Regions from separate parts of the Homo sapiens genome. Here region 1 is linked to region 2. Evidence: promoter capture Hi-C in 16 types of primary human blood cells and fetal thymus (Javierre and others, 2016). All regions are on one chromosome and are shown on one strand. Each heading gives the region's core, a stretch centred on a gene start or on the middle of the fragment in contact. The rest is flanking DNA. Distances are from core to core; before and after follow the strand shown.

Evidence for each region. Contacts are between HindIII fragments. The CHiCAGO score rates a contact against its expected background, and 5 or more counts as called.
Region 1: a fragment that was not itself captured here is called in contact with the fragment with the promoter of RPL6 in region 2 in 2 of 17 cell types (erythroblasts and total CD8 T cells); the score reaches 5.7 in erythroblasts.

What each region holds. Positions count from the first base shown.
Region 1 is chr12:111,867,834-111,871,062 of GRCh38, reverse strand. It overlaps MAPKAPK5 (MAPK activated protein kinase 5), which reads right to left. Exons shown (of 14, transcript NM_003668.4): 5 at 2,202-2,310; 6 at 703-792. Among named protein-coding and RNA genes, the nearest start is that of MAPKAPK5-AS1, 26 kb to the right of the region's middle. The HindIII fragment of the contact is 1,779 bases long and covers 969-2,747 here.
Region 2 is chr12:112,408,231-112,411,623 of GRCh38, reverse strand. RPL6 (ribosomal protein L6) reads left to right here and starts at 2,019. Exons shown (of 7, transcript NM_000970.6): 1 at 2,019-2,037; 2 at 2,968-3,204; 3 at 3,286-3,384. The coding sequence starts at 2,968. RefSeq lists an enhancer at 2,209-2,388. The HindIII fragment of the contact is 30,731 bases long and covers 1-3,393 here.

The sequences.
Region 1 (3,229 bases), core at 609-3,108, 540 kb after region 2:
TCACTGCTCCAGAGTGCTCAGTAAACATTAAAGGAAAATCCAGGTGTAAGACATGTTACCCTGAGATCTAACAAGTTTCTTTCCAGCTGAGATGCGAACTTATGAAAATAACATGTCCCCAGGTCTGGAGACAATGATTCACACTGAGGAACTGTCCTTAGTAATGCAGAAGTAAGGAATTCCTACCCACTCACACAGCTATTTTTGCTTTAGAACTTGTAAGGGCAGCACTAACGTCAAGGTCTTGGCCTAGGGACCCTTCACTCTATAAGCCCATCACCTCTCATCAATCTGGGATGCTACTTCACTTTTAATATCTGCCATAAGCTTCATGATAGACAGAGCAACTTATCTGGTGAGACATGGGGCAGGGGACAGAGCTGAAAGGGAAAACAGCAAATGAAACGAGATAATATATAACAGCATACAGATTCCTGCCCCTTCCCAAAGGTCCTCCAAATAATATCCAAAATCATTAAGTCCCACAAATACATATCAGTATCATCCAAAATTATCAATGCCGGGAGTACAGTAGTACAGCTTCTCTGAGCCTCTAGCAAGGGAACGAGTTGAAGAAATAAGCTGTTTGAAGCACTTTGGCTTAAAGCTTTTTCACCATGAATTCAGAGCGCTCCAAACACACCCACTCCTGAACTATGTTAAGAGTTGCAGCACTAAAATGCAGAAAAACAGTCTTCTCACCAAAGAGTTATCCTTAAAAAGCAGATTTTCAGGCTTGAGGTCTCTGTGCGCAATGTTTAACAAGTGACAGTGCCGCAGAGCCAAAGCTATCTGAAAAAAGACACAATGAAACAGTCGCTTCTTAGAAAAGACCACTCTTTAATACACCTGGCGTAGAGAACTCAGGATGTCAAAAAACAAGCCTTCATTAAGACTGCGTTCACTTTCAATTTTAAAGCAGAAATTAAGAAAAACTTGGAATACCAAGAAACAGAATGGATTAAGCTTAGTTTAACTGCAACTTGTATTTTGTCAGACAGAAAGAAAAATATGATGGTACAGCAATTCTTTGTCAGAATAAACTGATGGGTAAATCCTGTAAGAAATGGGAAAAATGAAATGCTCCCACTTTCATTCATCTGAGGTATGACAGACACTGCAGAAGAAACACCTAAGCTGAGCAATGGTCAGCAGGCGCAGTTCCCACAGCAGGGCTCAGACAAGAATGGCACTCTCCAGGGAGCTGAGGGTCAAGAAATCAGCTGACTGGGTTTTTCCAATTCATACTGGAAACTCATTTTGCTCATCATGCTTGTTGAAAATGTTGCCTGTTTATGTGGATTTGAAGGGGTTTTATTTTATAGAAGATTATCAGAGCTCATCCTTTAATCCTAATATTTGAAAAAATTAAAGGTATAATTTTAAAAATCAAACAGAAAGAACAGATTTTACTTGTTCTTTAACTCTCCATATGGCATTTTCTCAGCAATCCAAGTATCAGTTCCTCCCTACCAGAAAGGAGGCATCCAAAATTGCTTAAGGTTCATGGGAAACTTGGAAGAACTTTTTATTAAGAAGCAATTGGGCTGTGCTTCCTAATTCTCTTTGCTTTGCTTGCCTGGTATGAAGATAAGCCTTGAGGGTTTAGCTTTTCACCTCTGCAAGAAGTGATTATCAGCTGGATTCCTAGTATTGTTTGTGACATAAATCATTTCTACAGCAATAAAATGTGATGTCAACATAGAATATAACCAGGAATAATTCAGAATTACAAAGATCTTAGGATATTATTAAATCTGAAGAAATCACAGAAAGGTGGCTCACATGCAGGAAGCATCTTATGTACAATTCTCTTAAAATACATTTTTATACCATACAATCTTTCAGGTGGTATCAGCAGCATTTTATTGCAAAGTCCAATAACAGTACTTGGTAGCTACATGCCTAAAGATAACTGCAGTCTACAAAGCAGTTAAGATGCCTTCCTTCCAGAGTTTATTGAAATCTCACAGCAGCCTCAGGAAACAGTTGACAACCAATTAAGAACACAGTACCCCCACCCCCAAGTATAAAAGGGGTCACATTTCTCCTGTCAAAACATCTTTTCTGATTACATAACAAAGCAGGCAATGAGAAGTCAAATAGAGCTTTTCTTTAAGTTTTCTTTTCTTCCCCCCAATGAAATTGTGCTTGTTAACCAACTTTGGTGGCAGTTTGATTGGTACCTGGGGTTAACTTGCCTGCTTTGTTACTTGGCTGGCTTGCTTCTCTGTAAAGTGCCGGTGCTGGCTGATTCTGTGAAATAGCTCTCCCCCTTCCATCATCTCCATTACAATTAAGAGTCGGGCCCTGTTTGAAAGCATTTGATTTTGTTAAGTTAAAAAAAAAAAAAAGAAAAAGAAACAAAAAACCCTGAAACATTAAGAAGCTGACCTAAAGATACTGCATCTACAAAGTGTGTAACAACTTCCTAAGTCCAGGGTAACACAGTTACTAAGAGCAAAAATTCTCATGTTCTGAAAAAAAAAATTTTAATGTGATTTTTGGCTACCATTCTTTCATATATGCTTCCAGCTTCCATCCAAATGCTTTCACCAACAGAGCACAGTTGTGAAAAATAAGCGTTTTTTTCCCATTTGTTTGATTTCCCATTTGTTTTTAAAATTCTATCTTCTTTTTCCATCTGGAAAATTCCTACCCTTCCTTCAAGTCCTAGCTTCCACACAGCCTTTGTGAGACACCTCTCCTCCCAGACTATAGTTAGCAGCTCCTCTCCTTTGTAAGCTTAGAATATTTTAGGGATGCCTGTCCTTAGTGCCTATTGCACTGCTATGATGATGGGTTTACATCTCAGTCTTCCCCAAAAAAACCATACCTTATTTAATTTTGAATTTTAACAAAGAGACTTAGAATGCCACCCAATATGCTTGCCAAACATTTGGTAACTAAAAGAATAATGTTGATTTCTTTCTTTAAAAGGAAAGTTAGACTAAGCAATAATAAAGGCTTTTTGTTTTATCAGCCTCTAAGACTCTGCCTAGAATAATATTTGGGCCCCTTTCACTGATTTGAAATAGAATCTGTTTAAATTCTACATTAAATGCTTTCTTGAAATGAGAAAGTAATCAGAATCATCAGGGGATGTGAAGAGTGGTAGGGGCATAGATGAAATTAGACTGGCCACAAGAGGATTACTGTTGAGGATGGATCATGAGAACTTGAGGATTCATTACATAATTCTGTCTGCTTTTACAAATGCTTGACATTT
Region 2 (3,393 bases), core at 770-3,269:
AGCAATTTTGAGGGGCCCACGTAAGCAACTGTGCATCTCATTCATTCATTGTGGTACATTTTCTGCAGTTGAAGTTTCTAAGAGGTGCTTTGCTGAGGAAGCTAAACAAATAAAGCTGCTGACATTCCCATTCTCAAAAAAAAGGGCAGTGTTCATCTGATCATTGTATTTGTATCCTCAGTGAATCAGAACCAGAAAAAGGCTAAATGATTCCCAGAGACACAGCCATGAAGCAGGTGGTTTCGATCTGAAAAAATCAAGGTGAAAAGCTCTAGCAACCAGAAAGAAACGAATGGAGGAAAATGGAAAACGCAAGCTAGAAGGTATTACAAATGTGTACATGTTGGCTTAAGGGCTTTGAAGCAGTAAAGAACTATCACATATACTGTGTTGTGTATTTTGTAAAAGATAATAAATATTCTTATTTTTAATTCTAACATGAGCAAAACTCTCATGCATCTTCATTAATCATCTCTTTAATCTTGCAGCCTAATGGTTAAGAGTGCAATCTTTGGAATCAGATCTATGCTGTGAGCAAGTTACTTAATGTCCTTGAGACTCAGTTTCCTCATAATAGTATCATTCACAGGTTGTTGGGAGAATTAAATGAAATAAAGCAAGGCACATTGTATGCAATATTGCCTATTATCTCCCATGCATAAACTTTAGCAGAATACTTGACAACAACTAGGATGTTGATGATCAGATGATTGTAGTGGTGATGGTGACAATAACAAGAGCTAACAGTTCGCCAGGTGCGGTGGCTCACGCCTGTAATCCTAGCACTTTGGGAGGCTGAGGCGGGTGGATTACTTGAGGTCAGGAGTTCAAAACCAGCTTGGCCATCATGGTGAAACTCTGTCTCTACTAAAAATACAAAAAATTAGCTGGGCATGGTGGTGTGCGCCTGTAATCCCTGCTACTTGGGAGGCTGAGGCAGGAGAATCACTTGAACCCAGGAGGCAGAGGTTGCCGTGAGCCAAGATCGTGCCACCACACTCCAGCCTGGGTGACAGAGCGAGACTCCATCTCAAAAAAAAAAAAAAAAAAAAAAAAAAAAAAAAAAAAAGAGCTAACACTTATGTAGCATTTACCATCCATCAAATAATCAAATATGCTTCTCAGTACTGTTGTATATATTATTTAATGTTCCCAACATCCTTATGAAGTAAGTTACTATTGTTATCCTCACTTTAATTTTTTTTTACTTTTTTTAAGACAGAGTCTCATTCTGTAGGCCAGGCCGGAGGACGGGAATGAGAAAGGCCATGTACAAGAGGAAGTAGTCAGCCGCTAAATCCAAGGTAAGGGAAGAGGGGACCACTGACCTAATCTCAAGTGACAAGATTAGAGTTCACTGCACTGCAGCCCAGACCTCCAAGACTCAAGTGATCCTCCCGCCTTAGCCTCCCGAATAGCTGGGACTACAGGCACTAACAACCACACTCGGCTAATTTTTTTTCTTTTTTTCTTTTTTTTGTTGTTGTTATTGTTTTGAGACTGAGTCTGGCTCTATTTCCCAGGCTGGAGTGCGGTGGCACGCAGTGGCACGATCTTTGGAGTGCTGGGATTACAGGCGTGAGCCACCGTGTCCGGCCCTTTTTTTTTTTTTTTTCTTTTTTGAGAATCTTGCTCTGTTGCCTAGAGCGCAGTGTCGCGATCTTGGCTCACTGCAATCTCCACCTCCAGATTCAAGTGATTCTCCTGCCTCCGCGCCTCGACTGGCTGTCATTACAGACACGCACCACCCACGCCCGGCTACCTTTTGTATTTTTAGTAGAGACGGGATTTCACCATGTTGGCCAGGCTGGTCTCGAACTGCCAACCTCAGAGGATCCTCCTGCCTCGGCCTCCCAAAGGGCTGGGATTACAGGCGTGAGCCACCGCACCCGGCCTAGGATTTACTACTTTTTTCTTAACGGGGAAATACTACATTCCCCATGATGCCCCAGATCCGGAAGGAAGTGAGACTCGCACTTCCCATGATTGCTTATAGACCGGAAGCCGGGACCTTAATTCTCTTTCCCATCTTGCAAGGTAAGAATCGCGGGCCTGTCTGCAAGACTTGAGTTCAGGACTCCCAATCCTTCGCCATCCGAACCTGGAGGGCATCCAGTCGACACCTACAGGGGTCGGACATGTCCAAGGCTAACTGAGAGGCCTTCCAGACGCTTCATTTTTGTTGTTTGGGTTTGCGGCAGGGCACAAAGAGGGTGAGGTAGAATGCCGTAGTGGCTCCCTCCGGTTCTTCGCCACTCTCTTGGGCTGGGGGAACGAGGCCCTTTCGGGGACCCGTAGCAGACTGGTGGGTGTTAGAGGAAGCGGGGAGACGGCGCGTGCACTGTGTTCCTGGTCCTGGGTTCCAGAGGATGACACTGAGCCTGTCGCAGCCACGTTGGGGTTCCGCACTGAAGCCAAAAGGTTTCGCGTCTCCCAGCGTCCCCGACCGGAAGTCGCCTCTTGGTCTTTGCGATCTTTTTCTCTGGCTCAATTTGGGCTGATTCCGTTTGTGTCCGCAATTCCTAAATCGAGTTTCTTGAAAAGAGACACTGGTCTTAAGGGTTAAGACGAAAGGTACTGAAAGTAAGGGATTTCAAGTTCTGGTCTTGGTGCTTCTAACCTGTGGACACATTCTGCATCTAAGTTTTCTAATTCGCAAAACAGTAATAAAAAATAATGGTTGTACGGACTTCTGACCGCTCAGTATTTGGCAAAAAACCTAATAGGTGTGAGGTAGTTTCAAATTCTCAAAAAAAAAGTTTATAGTGTATTGGGGAGACAAACCCCAAATGAGTCATAGTGAAGGTTGGAGTAGAATGGGTAGAGTTTGAGAGGAAGGCCTGTATCTTACCGGGGGAGGGATTGTAGTCTGGGGAGCCCAGCCCATTCATGTACAGGTTCATTATTGTCTTGTTAGAGAGATGACTGGTGAAATGCCTTTTTTTATCTACAAAAAAATATTTTTAGATGGCGGGTGAAAAAGTTGAGAAGCCAGATACTAAAGAGAAGAAACCCGAAGCCAAGAAGGTTGATGCTGGTGGCAAGGTGAAAAAGGGTAACCTCAAAGCTAAAAAGCCCAAGAAGGGGAAGCCCCATTGCAGCCGCAACCCTGTCCTTGTCAGAGGAATTGGCAGGTATTCCCGATCTGCCATGTATTCCAGAAAGGCCATGTACAAGAGGAAGTACTCAGCCGCTAAATCCAAGGTAAGGGAAGAGGACCACGGACCATTATGTCTTAACCTTAATTGGCATTCTCTTACTGTTGATGCATTTGTGTCCTTGTAGGTTGAAAAGAAAAAGAAGGAGAAGGTTCTCGCAACTGTTACAAAACCAGTTGGTGGTGACAAGAACGGCGGTACCCGGGTGGTTAAACTTCGCAAAATGGTAAGATGT